2 separate regions of the Homo sapiens genome follow, and region 1 is linked to region 2. The links are contacts of gene promoters, found by promoter capture Hi-C in blood cells and fetal thymus (Javierre and others, 2016). All regions are on one chromosome and are shown on one strand. Each heading gives the region's core, a stretch centred on a gene start or on the middle of the fragment in contact. The rest is flanking DNA. Distances are from core to core; before and after follow the strand shown. Region 1 overlaps SH3RF2 (SH3 domain containing ring finger 2). Region 2 holds the start of PRELID2 (PRELI domain containing 2).

Evidence for each region. Contacts are between HindIII fragments. The CHiCAGO score rates a contact against its expected background, and 5 or more counts as called.
Region 1: a fragment that was not itself captured here is called in contact with the fragment with the promoter of PRELID2 in region 2 in 1 of 17 cell types (M0 macrophages); the score reaches 5.8 in M0 macrophages.

What each region holds. Positions count from the first base shown.
Region 1 is chr5:146,058,356-146,062,906 of GRCh38, forward strand. SH3RF2 (SH3 domain containing ring finger 2) reads left to right here. Exons shown (of 10, transcript NM_152550.4): 9 at 1,511-1,869; 10 at 4,071-4,551. The coding sequence ends at 4,346. The region is part of intron 1 of LOC107986458 (a long non-coding RNA gene); the gene reads right to left. Among named protein-coding and RNA genes, the nearest start is that of PLAC8L1, 45 kb to the right of the region's middle. The HindIII fragment of the contact is 2,110 bases long and covers 986-3,095 here.
Region 2 is chr5:145,834,092-145,838,330 of GRCh38, forward strand. PRELID2 (PRELI domain containing 2) reads right to left here and starts at 1,251. Exons shown (of 7, transcript NM_205846.3): 1 at 1,086-1,251. The coding sequence starts at 1,160. RefSeq lists a silencer at 1,443-1,562. The HindIII fragment of the contact is 2,489 bases long and covers 1-1,490 here.

The DNA of each region.
Region 1 (4,551 bases), core at 791-3,290, 230 kb after region 2:
GAGCAAAGAGAAATGGCAGGAGAATTGACTGCGTGAACCCCACAGGGCCGTTAGTGGAAAAATAAATGTCTAAATTGAAAGGGTCACACTTGTGTAGATGGTGACTGTCTTGCTTGCAGCAGCTGAGGACACCGACTGTGTTTAGCGAGTGTCCTGCTTTTCATGTACACATCTGGCTTAATAAGAAGTCACGATGCAGACGTGGCCTTGGCTCAGACCCTCTGTGCTGGACACAAATGACTTTGATTCAAACTCAAGTCCTTGGAGTGTCACAAAGGACTAACAACGCTGGCTGGGACAAAACCTACAGCTTCTCTAAATGCTGAGGGGCCCCTATGGAGAAATGGCCCAGTGTGTTTCTCATGGGTGTCTCCTCCACTTCCCCACAGAATGCAATGAACTCCTGATTCCCCAGGTCACCTACAGGATATATGTCCAATGGATGGGGATCTCCTGCCTTCCAGAGAATTTGAGGGGAAGAAATGACCTTTTCCTGAGACAGGACCATCTCAATTTAAAAAAAAAAAAAAAAGGAAAAGAAAAACAATGAGCTCAGGAAGGGACAAAACCAAGCTCTTGGACCTTGCATTTTTAGGATATGTGATCCTTTACCCAAAAATAATGATAGCTAACAGACATGCGGCATTTATCATATTCCAGGCACTATCCTGATACTTTGCACACCAAATAGAATGCAATCCTCACAGCAGCCCAATGATGTACTGTTATTATCTCCAGCTTACAAACGAGAGAACTGAGGTGCAGAGAGGTGACGTGACTTAACTCATCCCAGGCTTTCCAGGAGGAGGTCTGATTCCAGATCCTCTGTCATGAGACATTGCAAAGCCCATCCTCACAGCCCTAACTGTGGAATAACCTTTCCAAATTTGCCTTTGTCTGCTGTTGTGCTTGCCTAGCCCTTGCCACTCACCCTTTCTCCCTGCAGCCCCCGACAAAAAGCAACCCCCACCTGCCACATGCCTAAAGCTTCTGTCAAGATTTTCACAGCAAGTCGCTGGGCAGAGTTTTCCTCTCTCCTCCTCTCTTTCTCCTTTTCCTCTCTCTCATTCTTCTCGGTTGCCTCTCCTTTGTGTTTCTCAATGTCTTCTATTTCCTATCTCTGATTCTGTCATGTGTTTCCTATTTGGTCTGACTGCCTCTGTGTCTGCTTCACGCGCGCGTGTGTGTGTGTACGTGTGTGTGTGCGTGTGTGTGTGTGTATCACAAGGCAAATGGAAGCAATATACCTTCTGACAGCCCCCCTACACACATACACACATACACACTCACACACACCATTCAGCCAGAGAGATATTTGCTGCCAGCATCAGCAAACAGCACTAAAAAAAGAATAAGGTCACCTTTGAAAGACCCGGAGAGAATGTGAGTGCAGTCAGATTAGGAAAGCGCTTGTCTATTCTGGGATATCAGGAAGCACTGCTTACCCAGCCCCACCCAACCTACTGCCAGCCGCCCCTGCTGCTGATCTCTCTGTCCTATAATTCCCCAGATGGATCCCTGCAGAGACCCCTCCAGTCCGGGATCCCCACTCTCGTGGTAGGCTCCCTCAGACGCAGCCCCACCATGGTCCTTCGGCCTCAGCAGTTCCAATTCTACCAGCCACAGGGGATCCCCTCCTCCCCCTCAGCCGTGGTGGTGGAGATGGGGTCCAAGCCTGCCCTCACGGGGGAGCCCGCCCTCACGTGCATCAGCAGGGGCAGTGAGGCCTGGATCCACTCCGCGGCCAGCTCCCTCATTATGGAAGACAAAGAAATCCCCATCAAGAGTGAGCCTCTGCCAAAACCGCCCGCATCTGCCCCACCATCCATCCTGGTGAAACCAGAAAACTCAAGAAATGGCATCGAAAAGGTAGGATCAGAGTGACATTGGGGGCCCAACTCTTTCGATCCCGTACTATGCATAGTGTCTCAGCTCAGAGATTTTAGTGTTGGTGAACAAGGAACCAAAATTGCAGCCTCGAAAGAATCCTCACACATAACACTCCTCCTCCCCAACTCCCCACTGAGCCATGGCCAACATCCCCAACATCACCCACGCCCTCCCTACATGTGTTACTGATTCGCCTTTATGTTTCCTGAATATTTTATACATCTTTTGAGGCCCAAAAGTGGCTTGAAAAAAAAGCATGACTTTGGCATTAGATGAATCTTGCTTTGAATTCTAGCTTTGCTGCTTGCTAGCTGGGTGACTTTGGTCAAAATACTTCACCCTTCTGAGTCACTTAGTTTGCATAATCTGTAAAATGGAGGTAGAAAGAGTAATGGCCACACAGTAATGGAGTGGAGATTAAACGAGATATGTGAAGTGCTTACATAGGGTTTGACACATAATTATGCATTGTATAAAAGGGGCAACTGAGGCACAGGATAATGTAAGTGACATCGAGGTCACACTGAATGATAATGACTCCAACTACCTTATTGTGACCTCTGTGGCAGACGTCAGATCTGTTAACTTCTAGTCCAGGATATTTCCCACTAGAAGACGTGAGAGTTTTTGTAAAAGGCTTATGTTCTCAATAATATCCTTGAAGCAGGAGGAATAGTGGGAAGAGAGGACAGTAAGAAAGTTAGGTGATGCTTATTGCTGTCTTAATTTATGAACATCACCATCATCACATCATCGCCATCACCACCTCCATCACCACCGCCATCAGCATCATTCCACCATCATCGTCCATTCCCCTCAGAACGGAAAGAGGATGCGATTCCCCCATTGGTTAACCAGTTATCGAATACTAACAAGCTGGCAGGCACTGTGCTGAGTACTTCATGTGTCCCATATATTTAATCCTGACAACAACCCTCTCAAATAGGCATTAGTTTCATCCTCATTTTAAAATTAGGAAATGGCAGCTCAGGGAGTTAAAGAACATTACCCAAGACCGCACAGTTGACACATACGTGTGGAGTAGAATCCAGATCTGATGCAAAACTCATGCTCTTACTGCTAAGCTATCAGCTCATAGGGAAAGGTATTGGAAAAAGCACTGACATATATAAAGGTTGGGAGTTCTTATTCTGAATTATAGAAATAATTCAGAGTTTTCTAGGCCCCAGTTGCCCATTACTCCAAGCTTTTAGATACAACTATAAGCATTTCATAAATGCCCAGACCTTGGCTAGATATTAGGAGGATCAGAACGTATGAAGAAACTCAGATCTTAGTGGGGGATACTAGGGTTGCATTACATGGAAGAAAGACATCATTCCTGAGCAGTACCACAGAACGCTTTATTAGGCCCTGAGATAGAGACTGGCTAAAGCAAATACTGTACCTATGGGTGCCTAGCAGATATATAACAGGCTAGGAGATGTGAAAGGAAAGAGGAAGAGGGGGAATTGGCATAAACTGGAGACCTTGCATCTCATATAAAGGGGGCACTGCTTCTCAGGTCCAGCCAGCTGTTGTCAGAATGAGCCATAGGCCCAGTGCGTCAGAGCTTTGATTTTTTTTTTAAGAGACATATGAAATTCTGATTTTTATATGCAATCTCCCAATTTTTATGTGTTGGCGAGTCGATCAAACCCTCAAACATTCTGCAGGCTAAATTCAGCCAGCAGGTGTCCAGTTTGCAAACTGTGCTCTAAGGATTTATAAGGCCATTATGGAAATCTCTAAATGGAGTCATCAGGAGAGTGGCCTCAAAGAAAAGGAAAAACTTGAGATTGGCCTTAATAGTACGTAGAGAGGAGAGAGGCAAGGTAAATTTCTTTAATCTTCCAGAAGGGATCATACCCTCTTGCCTCAGGCTGTTTTTATAGGCGGCGGCCTACCCTATTTCTCCCAGATAAGTCCTAATCCTTTTGTGGTTCTCAATTTAAAGCTTCTGGGAAGACTTCCCTGGCTTCTCCACTTCCAGCTGAAGTTAGATGCTCCTCTGCATTCTCAGCATCTTGTACTTCCCCCATCTTAGCACTTGACACTCATGGTAGCCACAGATATTTGCAGAATGAACACATAAATGAGACATTTCAAGTGGGGACAAGCATGGGGAAATAGACATCTCCCACCTCACCTGTGTCCATTTCCTCTCCTTTCTCTTGCAGCAAGTCAAAACCGTGAGATTTCAGAATTACAGCCCTCCTCCCACCAAACATTACACCTCCCATCCCACCTCCGGAAAGCCTGAACAGCCAGCCACCCTCAAGGCGTCCCAGCCTGAAGCAGCGTCCTTGGGCCCAGAGATGACCGTCCTATTTGCCCACCGAAGTGGCTGCCACTCCGGACAGCAGACAGACCTCCGGAGAAAGTCAGCTCTTGGCAAGGCCACAACCCTGGTGTCCACTGCCTCAGGCACGCAGACCGTGTTTCCCAGCAAATGAACCTACGGGTGGCTTTTCCTAGACCCCAAAGAGGTGAATTGCATTTAAATACAGTCTGCCTCCACTGAGGGCATCCTGCCATTCTTTGGGGACTTGAGCATGGGTCCTTGTTCTTCCTATTTCACCTCCAGGAAAGCAAAAGTGGGAGCAGAAATTCCTGCCCTGGGTGGGAGGATAGATGGCGTGGCCTTCCAAACATACAAAC
Region 2 (4,239 bases), core at 1-2,500:
TCAGTATTGAGGAAGAGTTCATTATCTGTATTGAAATCGGTTGTAGTAATACAAACAACAATAACATTTTAGAGCCCTAACTAAACATCAGTAGCAGTGAGAAAAAGAAAAATAGCTCAGAGCAGATTGTGTGAGTTACAGTGAAATATGCAAAATCAATCAAGCCCAGAGAGACAAGAGTATAGGACTTTAGTGGTCCCCTCCTCACCCAACCCATTCCTGGGAGCAACTGGTTAAAGGCATTTTGTTCCTGACCAGCTGCCTTACCCATTATCTTCAAGTTCCTGGAATTTGTGATACAAAGAACAATGTACAGACAATCAATAGTTTATGTTATTTTAATATAAATTCTTGGTAAACAACTTAGGAAGTGCTTCTTATTCTCCTTTAAAAACCCACTTTCGACTTCTGCTCATCAGAATGTATACTCAGGGCACCTTCACTCCCAGGATGCAGCCCTCAAACTTGGCTCGAATGAACTCTCTTTTTATATTGATTTTGCCTCAGTTTCTTCATTTAGGTCACAACTGTGCTAAGCACTTTACACAAGTTACCTCATTTGGATCCTCACAACAACTCTATGAGTCGGTACTATTATTTTCCCCATTTTACAGATTAGCAAACTAAGGCACAAAGAGAGTAAGCAACCTGCACGATGTCCCACAGCTGTTTAATAAGGAGCAGCGGATGGGGCAGCAGAACCATCATGCTGAGTAAACCAGGATGACTGCCCAATGGCCTCCCCTCGCTTTTAAGGGGTCAGTGATGAACCGGAAAGCTCCACACGTCGGTCATCTGCAACTCCACGGAGCTCACGAGCTGGGATTCCCGGAGGCTCTTCCTAAAAGGAAAGCCTCTTCTTTCAGCTGGGGCAGGTGTGAACGTGATGCCAAGCACGGCCCCTTTTCCCGCTCCCTGTAAAGGGAGTCTTCGAGGAAATCCCTCTCGACCCACACATCCCTGAAGCAAAGCCCGCAGCTGGAAAGAGACACTGGCGGTGCCAGCTTCCGCGTGGATGAAGGAGAGGAGAGAGGGGCAAGCAGCGGAGGCAGCGCGGGATACGGAAGGTGGAAGCGGGGCGGTACCTTTCGGAGAAAGCTGGCGACCACCTGCTCGAAGGGGTACTTGTACACCTGGTGCACATCCACCGAGACCCCCATCCCCGCGCGCCGCGGGCCCCGCGCACCGGCCACGCCTCCGCGAGCTCAGAGCTGCCCAGGGCTCCGCAGAGGCCCGGAGGCGCCCACACTCGGACAGCCACATGGGCGTGGCCTTTTTCCTCCGCTTTTCAAACTTTCGAAACTTTATTGGCCACTCGGAGAAACGCGCAGTCGGCCACGCCCACGCCCCTACTGCCAGAGTCCGGGGCCTGGGGTTACAGAGCGCGGGAGGCGCTGGAGCGCTCCCAGAGCACCCGGGGCCCCGCGGTCTCCACGCTGGCGGCGCCAGAGCGGCCCTGGTGCCCTCCCGCGGCCGCGCCTGCCGAGAAAAGCTTCTCTGCCTGGGAGCCATCACGCCCCGCCCCAGGAAACCTGGACCTTGGGCTTATGCGTTTATGGTATCACCGCCTGGAGTCACAGAATAAGCCGTGGTTGGCAGCACGGGAAAAAAGTATTAATAAGGAAGGCCTGGTGTGACAAAGGCCAGCATTACTCATGCCACCAGGCAGCTGCCTCTGAGGCTTGGGTTTGGGCCTCGTGTAAGGTAAAGATTGCCTCGGGAATAAGAACCGCGTTTTAGTGCACCAAAACCTGCAGGTAAGTTCCTTTGCTCGCTAAGGTTAAACACCACGGAGCAAGGAACTAGAGGATACAAAAGAGTTGCGAGTATTATTATTTACTGCAACCAACAGATGTTAGGAGAACCAGCACGTTAATCCGTGTATTCAGCACGGTTCTGAGGCCTCCTATGCCCCAGCGCTGTAGTGGGCACTGCGGATTCCGCAGGGAGGAAACACCAGCTCTGCTGATGAGCCGGCTGATTTCACACCCAATCAACAAGCTGGGAAAATAAAAACAATAATCGGTTAAAGTGACACGGGCGCGGACATGATTTTAGTGAGGGTGATTATGGAGGGTCTCTGAGGTGATGACTTTTACGATTTTGCCATCTCGCTCGCCCCTGCCATACGCAGTCACACTGGTCTGGCAAAACCCTAGCCTTGTGTAAATCTAGGTCTCCTCTGACTGTCTCTACCCAAGCCACCAGAAGGGGCTGAAGGAAAATACACACCCACTGTGCATCTTTTAAGTTCATAACCACTAACCCTATGGCGCCTTTTAATGGTGCCAGACAAATACACTATGAAAGTACTGTATTTCTGGCTGGGTGCGGTGACTCACGCCTGTAATCCCAGCACTTTGGGAGGCCAAGGTGGGCGGATCGCCTGAGGTCCGGAGTTCCAGACCAGCCTGGCCAACATGGTGAAACCCTGTCCCTACTAAAAATACAAAAATTAGCCAGGCGTGATGGCGGGCGCCTGTAGTCCCAGCTACTCCGGAGGCTGAGGCAGGAGAATCGCTTGAACCCGGGAGACGGAGGTTGCAGTGAGCAGAGCTCGCCCATTGCACTCCAGCCTAGGCGACAAGAGCAAGACTCCATCTCAAAAAAAAAAAAAAAAGAGAGTACTGAATTTCTCTAATCCACTTACTCTCCCGCATTCCTCCACACCTCTGACACCTTTGTTCCCAGCCTTATACTCCAGTCATTACCTTACTTCCATTTTCACTTAGTCAATAGGTCACATCGCTCTGCCACCTCTCTACCCACCAGACCAAATGCCTTGCCTTCACTCTTGTTCCTGTGGGTGAACTGTCAGCACTTTGTTTTAGCACCAGTGTCTCCATTTGTCCACTGAATCCTGAGGTGAACTGAAAAATGTTTAACAAATAGCTGTCCTTTAAAGTATAAATCAAGCAAGGCCCTGATTTCCAAAGGTTGCTGATTCCTGTGGTGTAAATACTCCTACCATGTTTAAAGATGCCAACTCGATGTCACTAAACACAAGTTGGGGATTTAGCAACATGGAGTTGAGTGAGGAGTGGGAGTTGGGGAGGGAAGCACAGAAGCACACCATCACATAGTATTTCCACCACCCACATACGACAGCCATAAAGAACCAAAAACATAAATAATGGAAAATGTAGCAGGAAGGGATGAGTTTTCAATGTTTATTACTCTTTGGCCAGGCTCCTATGGTTCATGCCTGTAACCTCAGCACTTTGGGAGGCCAAGGCAGAAGGATCACTTGAGGCCAAGAGTTTGAGGCCAGTGTAGGCAACATAGTGAAACCCCATCTCTACAAAAAATAAAATAAAAAATTAGCCAGGTGTGGCAGTGCACACCTGTAGTCCTAGCTACTTGAGAGGCTAAGGCCAGAGGCTCTATTAAATCCGGAAGTTCAAGGCTGTAGTGAACTATGATCGTGCCATGCACTCCAGCCTGGGCCACAGAGTGAGACCCATCTCAAATAAATAAATATTTATTAATTTTTATATGTGATTGTAAATTTATATACTTTAATAATAGCTGTGTTGAATGGCCAGCTCTAGTACATCACTAAAAGTTCCTGTCCTCTTTCTTGTTCAAGGCCATCTCTCTAGCAATATCCCCCTTCCTTTCTGTATCATCAGCTTTTGTCTCTACTGGGCCATTCCAGCCAGCACAACAAGTACACTGTAATTTCTTCCATCTAAAAACAAAAACAGAAACAATACAAAAAAAACAACTCTTAACCCCCTATCTTCCTCCAGCTGTATTCCGAGTCTCTGGTCCACTGATGCTCCTCAAAAGAGCTGCCTGTAATCTCTTGAGCCCATTCCAATCAGTATTTGCCCCCACCACTTCACCGAAACGACTGTTGTCAAGGTCACCAATGACCAAATTGCTAAATCCAATAATTAATTCTTAATCCCCACCTTACTAAGCCTGTAAGCAGCATTTCCTTGAAATACAGAGGGAGGAGTGGAGAGGAGAATGAGATGCAAATGCTCTTACATGTGTTGGATGCATGTTTAAAAGCCACTCCACTATATCACCAATCCCTCCTTACAGGAAAACAAAAAGCAGTCTTCCAGGGAGACTACACAGGTCCACAAAGGAGAGATCAATTACCTGCAGAGTTTATGGTATTTTGTATCTGCCTCTTTTACCAGAGTAGCTGGAGACCAGATGTGACATACAAACCCCCTGCTAGCGTAGGTCCTGGGCCCTGTATCCTCAATCCACTCTGACCATCAG